Regions from separate parts of the Homo sapiens genome. Here all the other regions are linked to region 1. Evidence: promoter capture Hi-C in 16 types of primary human blood cells and fetal thymus (Javierre and others, 2016). All regions are on one chromosome and are shown on one strand. Each heading gives the region's core, a stretch centred on a gene start or on the middle of the fragment in contact. The rest is flanking DNA. Distances are from core to core; before and after follow the strand shown. Region 1 holds the start of CSTF2T (cleavage stimulation factor subunit 2 tau variant). Region 2 holds the start of UBE2D1 (ubiquitin conjugating enzyme E2 D1). Region 3 overlaps BMS1 (BMS1 ribosome biogenesis factor). Region 4 overlaps IPMK (inositol polyphosphate multikinase).

Region 1 (2,700 bases), core at 112-2,611:
TCCATTCCTCTCCTCTCCATTACACGTGTCTCTAAGACCTCAGTTTCCATGGCACGAGTCTCCATCGCTCGAGAATCTCTACCACCTCTACCATCCATAGGTAGACCCCTTTGATCTATCATGGGGCCTCTGGGCTCTCCAATTAGCAGTCTGGGATCTCCTAATGGCCCTCCCCTCATCTCATGTGAGGAAGGGCCACGAGTGTCATGACCAGAGGCATGATGCATGGGGGGACCCTGATGGGGTGGACCCAGATAACCTCTGGGCTCCACTTCTCCAGTGACTGAAAGCAAAGTCCCTCCACGTGGGTCATTTGGAGCATCTCCTAACAGTCCTCGAGGAGGCAGACCACCAGGAGTCACGGGTCCGCGAGGTATAGGAGCTCTAGGATCTGACATCTGCACTTGTCCCCGCTCTAAAGGCACTGGGCCAACCCCTGGCATTCCAAGTTGGGGCTGCATTGCTCCTCCAGGAGTTAAGGAACCAGGACCAGCTCCGGGAACTGCAGCTGGTATTGGCCCTGGAGCTGGAATTCCACCCTGGATAGGAGTCTGCATCAGAGGAGGAATGTCCTTCACAGGTCTTCTAGCCAAATGCTGAGGCTGAGGAGCTGGAGGATTCTGCTGGTTCAGCAGAACATTAGGTCCTGGGCAGAGCCCAGGGCCAGGGCCAGGGCCAGGGCCAGAGACAGACACAGACTGAGATTTGCCTGGGATCAGTGGTGTGACATGTATCTTCCGATGCAGAATTTTCAGAGCAATCTCTGGATCCATGATTCTCATCACTACTTGTGCCTGCAACAGTGCATAAGCCAGTTGTGGATTTTGAAGTAACATGTTTCGAGCTTCCTGGTGGCTGTTTTGGACACAGAGCTTCATCTGCTTCATCAGCTCAAACATCTGCTCCGGGGGGAGACTGGCTACTGCTCTGGTAATCGATTCAGGGGCATCTTCTGGATCGATGGGATCCCCATAGGGTGAGTCAATAATGGGCGCTGCAGGCCCAAGGCTCTTTAACTCCTCCTTATTCTTTTCACTGGCAGCATTGTCCACCCGAAGCGCTCTCCCACTGAACTCCCGCCCATTGAGGTTCCGCATGGCACTAAGCGCGGTCTCCTGGTCTTGGTATTCGCAGAAGCCATAGCCCTTGGGTTTTCCCGTCTCTCTATCGTATACCAGCCGGAAACTGACAACAGAACCAACCTCCGAGAAAATGTCCTTTAACTGCTCCTCAGTTGCCTCATATGGAATGTTCCCCACGAACACGGAACGCAGTGATCGATCCATTGCCGGGTCTCTCACCGCCAAACTCGACATGATTCCGGTTGTGCAGACAGCCGATAGCGGATTCTTCGAGGCGTCTGTCCTCTTGCGACCGACACTTCCGCTGAGCAACGGAAGCGGCTTTCAAGATCCGGGCAGAAACTTTACTAATTCGCTTGAATCGTTCCGCTTGCCTGTGGAACCTGCATCCCACTAACAACTTATCTAATGCTTTCAGTCCCTGATCCTTCATGGTTCTGTCAGCTTCTTATTACAGAGTCGCATGATTCCTTTCCCATTTCACGTTCCGCTGACTTTCTGTGGGGCCCCAACAGCCCCACTACGACACGCTTGGTACGAGATGACCACAGTAAAGATGGCCGCATAGACTTCACCGTAGTAACTGGGAGGGGACTCTTCCCTTGACGTCAAAGGCGGTTTTGCTTCCGTTCCGCTGGCGGGAAACCGCCAACCGAAAGCGGATTTAAGGCGGCGTGTTTTTCGTTCTGACAAAGTATTTTCATGTGGCCTTTTATTATAGTATAGTTAAGCTAGATTTAAAATCACATTCCAGACTGAGGGAAAAGCGTAGTCGTTTCAGCACATTTGAGATTTGCCCCTTAAACTAAAACAGTATTATATCTCCTTTTTAGAACAACGTTTTTGGAAATTAACTGACAAGAAATATAAACTGAAGCGTGTGCCGGCTGGGCCCTGCCCCCATTCTGTTGCTTCCTATAACCGCTGTTAATGGATGGGTGGCAGACCCTTCTAGGTTTTTCCTGAGCACACGGGCAGCCGTCGTGCTATTCCTAATATTACGGTTTTCTTCCTTAATAACAACCGATTTCAATATTAATTGGTGATTAAATAAATTAGTGATTAATTAGTTATTAGTATTTTATGGCTTCAGAGTATGGAATAAAGAAATTTACTTAACTATCCCTACGTTGATTGGTTCTGATTTTTATTATATCATGCAGTGAGTCCACCACTTCCATGAAGGGAGAAACAAATAGCGGGTGTTTGTCTTCTGCTGTTAGCTTTGCAGGTAGGAGTTAAAACATATTCAGTGTGGTGTTTCCCCGCCTGCAATTCGAAGCTAGAACTGAAGCTTGGAGAGGGCTAGGTAAATTCCCAAGGACAAGCAGCTGGAAAGAGGCCAAGTCAGGATTCTAACCCAGCTTGGTCTCGCATAGCTCCAATTCTACACTGCCTTACGTGTATTGAATATATGAAATGAAGCTAGTGTGATTGAAGAAATGAATTTTAAATCTCATTTTTTATTTAAATATAAAAACTAATGTTCAGTAAGCTATTGGAAAACTTTTTTAGTATTTAGAACAACTTGGATATAGAATCTACTTTTGCAATAATAAATTGTGTTCTAAATAAAAATCATTTTGAAGAACACTAAGACAAAAAATAAAAACAAATA
Region 2 (2,700 bases), core at 80-2,579, 6.6 Mb after region 1:
TCAGCTCTATTCCCTTTAAACAAATACAACATTTATTGCATTAGTTATGGGTGAGGAAATTGAGGCTTAGAAGGATTTGAAGATTTGCTCAAGGTGGAGATTCTCAAAAGTGTCCTCAGATACCTGCATCCTAACTTCCTGGGAAGTTTGTTCTAAAGTTTAGACTCCAGAGCTTCACCCAAAACTTACTGCTAAATTAAATCCTTTAAAGGAAATCTGCATTTTTAGGATCTCCTCTTATGCCTTCCAGCATAGTGCTTCTCAAACCCTAATGTTCATCTGAATCACCTAGGAGTCTTATTAAACTGCAAAGTGTGATGTAGCATGTCTGGAGTGGGGCTCAAGATTCTGTTTTTGTTTGTTTGTTTTTGTTTTTCAACTTTTATTTTAGATTTAGAGGCCACATATGCAAGTTTGCTACCTGGGTATGCTGTGTGATGCTGACATTTGTGGTATGAATGATTTTATCACCCAGGTACTGACAATAGTACCCAACAGTTTTTCAACCTTTGCTCCCTCGGTCCCCTCTCTAGTAGTCCACAGTGTCTATTTGTTGCCATCTTTATATCCCTGAGTGATATGGTTTGGCTGTGTCCCCACCCAAATCTCATCTTGGCCAAGAAGCCAAGTTTTAATGGGTACACAAGTGCATAGGAATTGGAGAGTGGGGAGCGTGAGTTGACTATTGGTCAGGGACTGTCAACGGAAGGGAAGGAACCAATGATGGGAGTGAGAGCCCAGAACTCGGTGTTCGAAGTGGGTAATTTATGGGAGGGGCATACCTACGAGCAGACAATGCACTCAGACAAGGAAGATTTGCACATTGGACAGAAGAGACACCTTTTTCCTCTGCAATAAGAACCAAGGAGGTAAGTAGGGGGTCTGATATGAGTTTGTGCATGTGTGCAGGGTGAGTGAGACAATCCATATATTTGAGAAAAGACAGTGAAATCTTTAAAGGTAAAAATAATAAAACCAGCTGTGGCACCTATTGGATAAGGAATTACTAACTGATGATTTAGAAATTCCTTTATGTGCGTTAGGAGCTCATTTGTTATCCCCATTTTACAGATGCGCAGCCCCAGGTTCAGCAATTTGCTCTAAATGAGACTGTAGAGGCTAATTCCAGCCCCCGGCAGCTCTCACCTTAAGCTGCCTGGCTGAGGTCAGCAGTAAGTTACCTGGCAGCGTCCGGGGGCCTGCAGCCGAGGACAGGGCTGGAACTACACTTCCCAGTGTGCCAGGCGGGGCGGGGCGCGGCGGGGAGGGCGCAGGCTCCTTCCCAGAAGCAAAAGCGGAAACAAAAGAGTCTCGCCGGCGTCCCCGCCCGCACACTCGCGCACACTCGCGCTCGGGCGCACACGGAGCAGGGACCGGCGCCCGGAGCGAGCCAGGGAGCGGCTAACCGGGGACCCACCGCGCGGAGCCAGCCTAGCTGCCAGCGAGCCCAACCCGCGACGACCCACGCCCCTGAGCCCCGCAGCCGACCCCTGCCGGCCGGTGTCCCCACCGCCATCCCTGACCCATGGCGCTGAAGAGGATTCAGAAAGTGAGTGCCGGGGCCGGGCCTGGGGCTGCGGGGCAGCGGCCCCCTGCCCACGCTGACTCGGCCAGTGGTCCCGAGAGACATGCGGGGAGAGCAAGGGATGGAAGGGTGGGCCGGGGTGCGGGCAGGGAGCTGAAGGCTCGGGCCGGGCCAGCGGGCATCGGACAGGTGAGGTGGGAGCAGGGTCAGGTCCCAGGCGGCCGGAGGAGCTTGAAGGCTGGGGGCCCGCGCGCGTTCGCGCCGGAGCCGCTCCCGGAGCCCCAGGGTAGAGAGCCTCTTGCGCGTCCAGACCGTCCCGAAATCTGTGCTTCACGGTCACGGCCGGGTTTTGCCCTCCATGGGGCTAGTTTTGACCCCTGTCATGCTGTGTTTTCTCCAGGCTGTTTCTTAAGCCTGTCCTCTTTTATGTTCTTGCTTACCCGGCCTCCCCGGGAGGGCAAGGAAGGTGGGGTGGGCCTGCAGCCTTTCTCCGCGGAGCTGTCGGGTTGGTTCTTTCTCTCCTCTGCGGTTGGCTCTTGCTCAGTTGCCCGAATGGGCTGGAAAGCCCATTTGCGGCCAAGAAGTCAGGAGAAGGCTCCTGCCCCTTCTATTTTGGTGCCTCTGCTGCTGCCACTTCAGGTCACATAGCTGTAGCGAAAACATAGTTGCTGATACACAACAAGATGACCTCCTGGCTGTGATTCACGGTGAGTCAAGCCAAACAGGTTTTTTTCCCCCTCATGATAAACTTAGATGTAAAGTTCGAGACACAACATAAACTGTCGCAAATAAATTGTTTTGATGCTTTGACACATGGGTATAGAATGAGGAAGAAATATATATCTTCATCCAACAACTGTTTACCCATCTCAACCCTGTGTATGGAATCGTCTTTTTTTCACAGTATTTATTGCCACCATTTCAGATGCGAACATCCTTCAGAATTCAGATTCGGGCATTTCTTTCTGTTCATTTTTATTTCTTGTTGGTCTGTGTACTGACCCAAGTTTTAGGTTTTACAGTTACAGTTCACACTGGCAACATTGAGAATGTGTTTGTTAAATAGGGAGTGCTTTTCACTAAGTTAAGCAACAATGGACAGTGTATTTTGTAGTTGTTTCAGAAGAAATTGATGCCCACATTTTTATCCACTTTTTTGACCAGGAGTCCATTAT
Region 3 (2,700 bases), core at 200-2,699, 8.9 Mb before region 1:
TTTTAGTTTAAGTTAGGAAACCACTTCATCAGTCCAGTTGATACCTGGGTCTGAGCTGTCCAGTATGGTAGCCACATGTGACTATTTGGAGTTAGAATGAAATTAATTAAAAACTCATTTTTTCAGTTTCCCTAAGTATATTGTAAGTAACCACATGTGGCTAATGGCTAAATGGCTGAAAAGTACAGATATAGTATATTTCTATCCTTGCAGAAATAGATACTGCTGATGTTGACACTTAAGATGAATAAAAAGTAACTTAACCATAAAATGTAATCTTAAGAGAGGTAACTCATCTAATTTATAGCATAACAGAGAGAAATGAAATTGGGGATGGTTAAGCAGTTTCTACCCTTGTTCAGTGAACAAATACATCATCTCTTCATAAAGAAATAAATGAAATTTACTGTTTTTCCCTGGGTATTGCCTGGATTGTAAAATGCTTCTCCCATCTCCTTACCCCAACCTTCTTCCTTGTAGGTTAGAGTTACTTGTTATTGGTAAATAGCCACTATGGAGGCTAAGGACCAGAAGAAACACAGAAAGAAAAACAGTGGACCCAAAGCTGCAAAGAAAAAGAAGCGGCTTCTGCAGGATCTCCAGCTAGGAGACGAAGAAGATGCCCGGAAGAGAAATCCCAAAGCTTTTGCAGTTCAGTCTGCTGTGCGGATGGCTCGATCCTTTCACAGGTATGTTAGGCTACGGTCTGGTCATTCTTCCATTGATTCTTTTTTTAAATAGTAGGAGCCTCTCACAGGTGACATTTGGATTCACGAGTCTAGTCCAGCTCCAAAGGACATGGAGATTCATGGTGTGTGGCTTTCACTAAAACGTGAGAAGCTTTTCCCATAGAAGCTGCCTTGCCTCCAGCATCTGCATACTGGTTAGTGTTTATTGCCCAGGATACAAGAATTTATAGACTTTGTTTGTTCCTAAATTTTAAACTGTTTCTATGGTGATAAGTGTGCTTTTTCCCCCCAGGTATGTTTTACATAGTTGTAATATAAAATACAAAAATTACAATATTTAATACTAACATAGCTTTATTTAGTGAGCCCTTGTGATATGCCTAGCAGTGTACTTTAAACATTATTCAACTAAATCCTTCCAGCAGCCTTACCAGAGTAGGAATCATTCTTGCCCTCATTTTATGGGTAAGAAAACTGAGATCAAGAAAACAAGTTACCTCCAATCATATAACCAGTAAGTAGGAGAGCTAAATGTAACTCCAGCGCCTCTGCTCTTATCTGCTATGATGTACTGCCTCGCTATTTACCTTTTGGTTTTTTAAAAAACTATTAAAATCACTCTTAAAACAGTCAGATTTAAGGAGTGTTTAATTTTCGCTCTCTATAGTATTGAAGTCATCTTGTTACATCTTTATTGAACAGCAATTATTTGGATGGGGCCAGAAGTTAGCAAGTTAATAATTGACAAGTTAATTATATTTATATATTGTCTGTTGTACTCTCTATAAAATGTGCTAAAGTACTCATAGCTATAAGTGTACCAAAAAAGTCTACTTATAAGGTTGATACCTTTTACTCTATTTTGAAAATGAGTTTACTATTTATTTATTTGTTTATTTTTTAATGAATAGGACTCAGGATTTGAAGACAAAAAAGCATCATATTCCAGTGGTTGATCGAACTCCACTAGAGCCCCCACCAATAGTGGTAGTGGTGATGGGACCTCCAAAAGTTGGAAAGAGCACTTTGATACAATGCCTCATTCGGAACTTTACCCGGCAGAAGTTGACTGAGATCAGAGGCCCTGTGACGATTGTGTCAGGTAGGAGATGCCACCACAGACACAGAGTTGGCGTGGCTGTTGTCATCTGAGGGACATGCATGCGTTTGTTGTTTTCTTGAGTGGAACATGTTAAATATTGTCATATCATGGGACTTCTCTTATACTTAGTATTACTAAGTTGGCTATAGCTTCAGAAAAGGGTAAGTTCCCAGAGATAAGGATGTGATAATGTTCACATTTCCTCCCAGCACTCTGGGAGGTTCCAAGGCAGGAAGATACTCGAACCCAGCACTCGGGCTGGAAAATCAAGCTTTGCTGCTCGATTGCGACACCAGCCACAGTCCTCTTCCTCCGTGTAGAAGGATGTGTGGTCCAGCCTCTTAAGGTGATGCTTTCCTTTTCTTCCTGGTTTCCTCCTCCATTTTTTGTATGAGAAATGATAATGTTCACTATGTCTTATCCTGACTGCTCTTTGGCTTTGCCAAACATGTTCCTTGGAAGGGCCTAGCAGGCCTAGTCACCGTGAACACATCATTTAACAGATAGCACGCACCTCCTATGTGCCAGGTGCATATGCTTGCCTTATGAAGCCACATTCTGGTGGAAGTGCGAGTTTTCTCTTTTTCCTGTGAGAATTGTCTGCTTTGGGAGATGGTGACCTTTCCGAGTTTGAGGGAAAATGAAACAAACTTCCAGTGGTAGAATGGCAATGTACACTCTGAAATCTCTTGTTATTGCAATAATATAGTTGGATTGAGGCTTTTCTTTATCTTTGGAGCATCCATATTTTCTTTTCCCTTTTTTGAGACAGAGTCTTACTCTGTGGTACAGGCTGGAGTGCAGTGGTGTGATTACGGCTCACTGCAGCCTCTACCTCCCAGGTTCAAGCATTCCTCCTACCTTAGCCTCCTGAGTAGTGTATGCCACCACGCCTGGCTAATTTTTCTT
Region 4 (2,700 bases), core at 176-2,675, 6.6 Mb after region 1:
CATCATTCTGAACAAACTATCGCAAGGACAGAAAACCAAACACCGCATGTTCTCACTCATAGGTGGGAACTGAACAACGAGAACACTTGGACACAGGGCAGGGAACATCACACACCGGGGCCTGTCGTGGGGTTGGGGGGATGGGGGAGGGATAGCATTAGGAGAAATACCTAATGTAAATGACTAGTTAACGAGTGCAGCAAACCAACACTGCACATGTATACATATGTAACAAACCTGCACGTTGTGCACATGTACCCCAGAACTTAAAGTATAATAAATAAATAAAAAAATCTCATCCTGAATTCTTTATTCTAGGCTTGTTTTCTGAAGTAGTATGGGTGTAGAAATTCTGAAAATTGTAAGATTAAGCAAAAGAATAAACATATTAATATCACTGGGAGCCAGGGTTCTTACTACAGAAGAAGGGAAATACAAATTTAGAATCAAGGGAAAGGAAGAACTCGGGTTTAAATGAAATTTGAAATATGAAATTATAATTTCTAAAATATTTATACATACTTTAAAAATCATGTCCATTGAAAAGTCCTGGAAGAAATGATACTCCAACAGTTATGACAATACCTAGTAACACAGATCTTGGTTTCTAAATACCATTTTCCACTAAAAAGAAACCAGGGCTCCTTGAAGAAATGGTTGACTCTAGGGCTGGGGAAGAAAGTTATGAGATAATTCTAAAAAATCTGTTATGACAGAAAGGAAGTGCTCTCAATGGTCAAATTTGGGACCATTTGAGCAACAAAATAAATAAGTTCCTTTTTTAAAAACATTGAGATGTGATTAAAGTCCAATAAATAAGTTCCATAATGGGTAATGATACATGTTATCAAATAGGAATCCATGATGCAAACTGATTATAAATAAGGACATAAATACTTAAGGGTAAAGGAAGAGCTATTTCTTGGAATGCTAGCTGTTAAAGCAGAGGGAGTGAAAGAATGGGGGGAAAAAATCACAATTTTGTAACTATCAGAATAAACACAGCTTCAGGCAAGAATCAACAGATGCCAAATCTAGGGATGAAGTTGATGAGAATCCAGATAGCTGCATGACTGTAAAGTGTCTCCTCACATATAGCTTATTAAATGTAGAACAGAAAACATTAACTATATACTGAAGCCAGGCATGGTGACTCATTCCTGTAATCCTAGCACTTTGGGAGGCTGAAGCAGAAGGATCACTTGAAGCCAGTAGTTCAAGACCAGCCTGGGCAACAAAGCCAGATCCCATCTCTACAAAAAATTTTAAAATTAGCCTGGCCCAGCAGTGGTTCATGCCTGTAATCCCAGCACTTTGGCAGGCAGAGGTGGGTGGATCACCTGAGGCCAGGAGCTCAAGACCAGCCTGGCCAACATGGCAAAACCCCGTCTCTACTAAAAATACAAAAATTAGCCAGGCATGGTGGTGCACTCCTGTAATCCTAGCTACTTAAGAGGCTGAGGCACGAGAATCACTTGAACCTGGGAGGCGGAGGTTGCAGTGAGTCAAGACCGCGCCACTGTTCTCCAGCCTGGGCAACAGAGCAAGACTCCGTTAAAAAAAAAAAAAATTAGCCTGGCCTAGTGGTGTGCACCTATACTCCCGGCTACTCAGGAGGCTGAGGCAGGAGGATTGCTTGAGCCCTGAAGTTTGAGGCTGCAGTGAACTACATCACGCCACTGCACTCCAGCCTAGGTGACACAGCAAGAGCCTGTCTCAAAAAACAAACAAACAAAACGATATACTGAAGAAGCCAGACTACACTTGAATCAGACAACCAGAAATAATCCACTACCAAAGGGCAGCTATTGTTGGCCTCCACTTACACAATGTTCCAGCTGGAAAAGTATCATCTGAATCCCATCGTAAGGAACTATCAGAAACCCAAATTAAAGAACATTTCATAAAATAACTGGCCTGTACTCTTCAAAATGACAATGTCATAAAGGACAGGGAAAGGCTGAGGATATGTTACAAATGAAAGGACACTAAAAGACATAACAACTAATTGCAATAAATGATTCTGGACCAGATCCTGTACTGAGAAAAACAAATGTGATAAAAGACATTACAGTATTGGAACAGTTGACAAAGTGAGACTATGGACTATAGATTAAAGTATTATATCCCTGTTAAATTTCCCATAGTTGATCAATGTGCTGTGGCTACAGAAGAGAATATCCTTGTTCTTAAGGAAGACACACTTTAGTATTAACATGTAAAGTGGCATAATGTATGCAACCTACTTGCAAATAGTTAAGAAAAATTATTTGCATTGAGAGATAATAAAACAAATTTTGCAAAATGTTACTTTTCTATTGTTCTTGCAACTTTTCTGTAGGCTTGAAATTATTTTAGGTTAATTAGTTTCAGAGGATATCTAATAAAAAGAGACTACTAAGCCAAGATAATTGTAGGTCTTTCTCCCCCACAACAATTATCAGTTTAAATCCTTGTTTTCCCTATAGACTACCCCATTTCTACATCCTACATCAGATCAAGAAATATCAGATTTCCATCATTTGTTTAAAACTTTAAGGACTTTTTAAAGAACTTAATGATACATATTAAAAGAATTTTATGCTAACTTTGGTGAGTTTTGGGAATTTATATTGATCTTTTTTTTGCGAAAACTTCCTACAGAGATAGGTACACAACGTGCAAGGTATGCTATTATATACAAGAATGTTTAATAAGTAC

The links. The method cuts DNA at HindIII sites, captures the fragments that hold promoters and counts their contacts. A CHiCAGO score of 5 or more calls a contact.
Region 2: a contact is called between the fragment with the promoter of UBE2D1 here and the fragment with the promoter of CSTF2T in region 1, in 1 of 17 cell types (activated CD4 T cells). The highest score is 10.3, in activated CD4 T cells.
Region 3: a contact is called between a fragment that was not itself captured here and the fragment with the promoter of CSTF2T in region 1, in 1 of 17 cell types (monocytes). The highest score is 7.5, in monocytes.
Region 4: a fragment that was not itself captured here is called in contact with the fragment with the promoter of CSTF2T in region 1 in 2 of 17 cell types (total B cells and non-activated CD4 T cells); the score reaches 7.9 in total B cells.

What each region holds. Positions count from the first base shown.
Region 1 is chr10:51,698,234-51,700,933 of GRCh38, forward strand. CSTF2T (cleavage stimulation factor subunit 2 tau variant) reads right to left here and starts at 1,362. Exons shown (of 1, transcript NM_015235.3): 1 at 1-1,362. The coding sequence starts at 1,316. All of the region lies in intron 3 of PRKG1 (protein kinase cGMP-dependent 1), which reads left to right. RefSeq lists enhancers at 1,050-1,629, 1,754-2,442 and a silencer at 2,196-2,490. The HindIII fragment of the contact is 5,025 bases long and covers 1-2,374 here.
Region 2 is chr10:58,333,677-58,336,376 of GRCh38, forward strand. It overlaps UBE2D1 (ubiquitin conjugating enzyme E2 D1), which reads left to right and starts at 1,330. Exons shown (of 7, transcript NM_003338.5): 1 at 1,330-1,549. The coding sequence starts at 1,526. RefSeq lists enhancers at 994-1,494, 1,093-1,387 and a silencer at 1,195-1,714. The HindIII fragment of the contact is 6,404 bases long and covers 1-2,700 here.
Region 3 is chr10:42,783,882-42,786,581 of GRCh38, forward strand. It overlaps BMS1 (BMS1 ribosome biogenesis factor), which reads left to right. Exons shown (of 23, transcript NM_014753.4): 2 at 481-689; 3 at 1,601-1,791. The coding sequence starts at 514. Among named protein-coding and RNA genes, the nearest start is that of BMS1, 2.4 kb to the left of the region's middle. The HindIII fragment of the contact is 1,222 bases long and covers 839-2,060 here.
Region 4 is chr10:58,261,966-58,264,665 of GRCh38, forward strand. The region is part of intron 1 of IPMK (inositol polyphosphate multikinase); the gene reads right to left. Among named protein-coding and RNA genes, the nearest start is that of IPMK, 4.6 kb to the right of the region's middle. The HindIII fragment of the contact is 3,933 bases long and covers 1-2,700 here.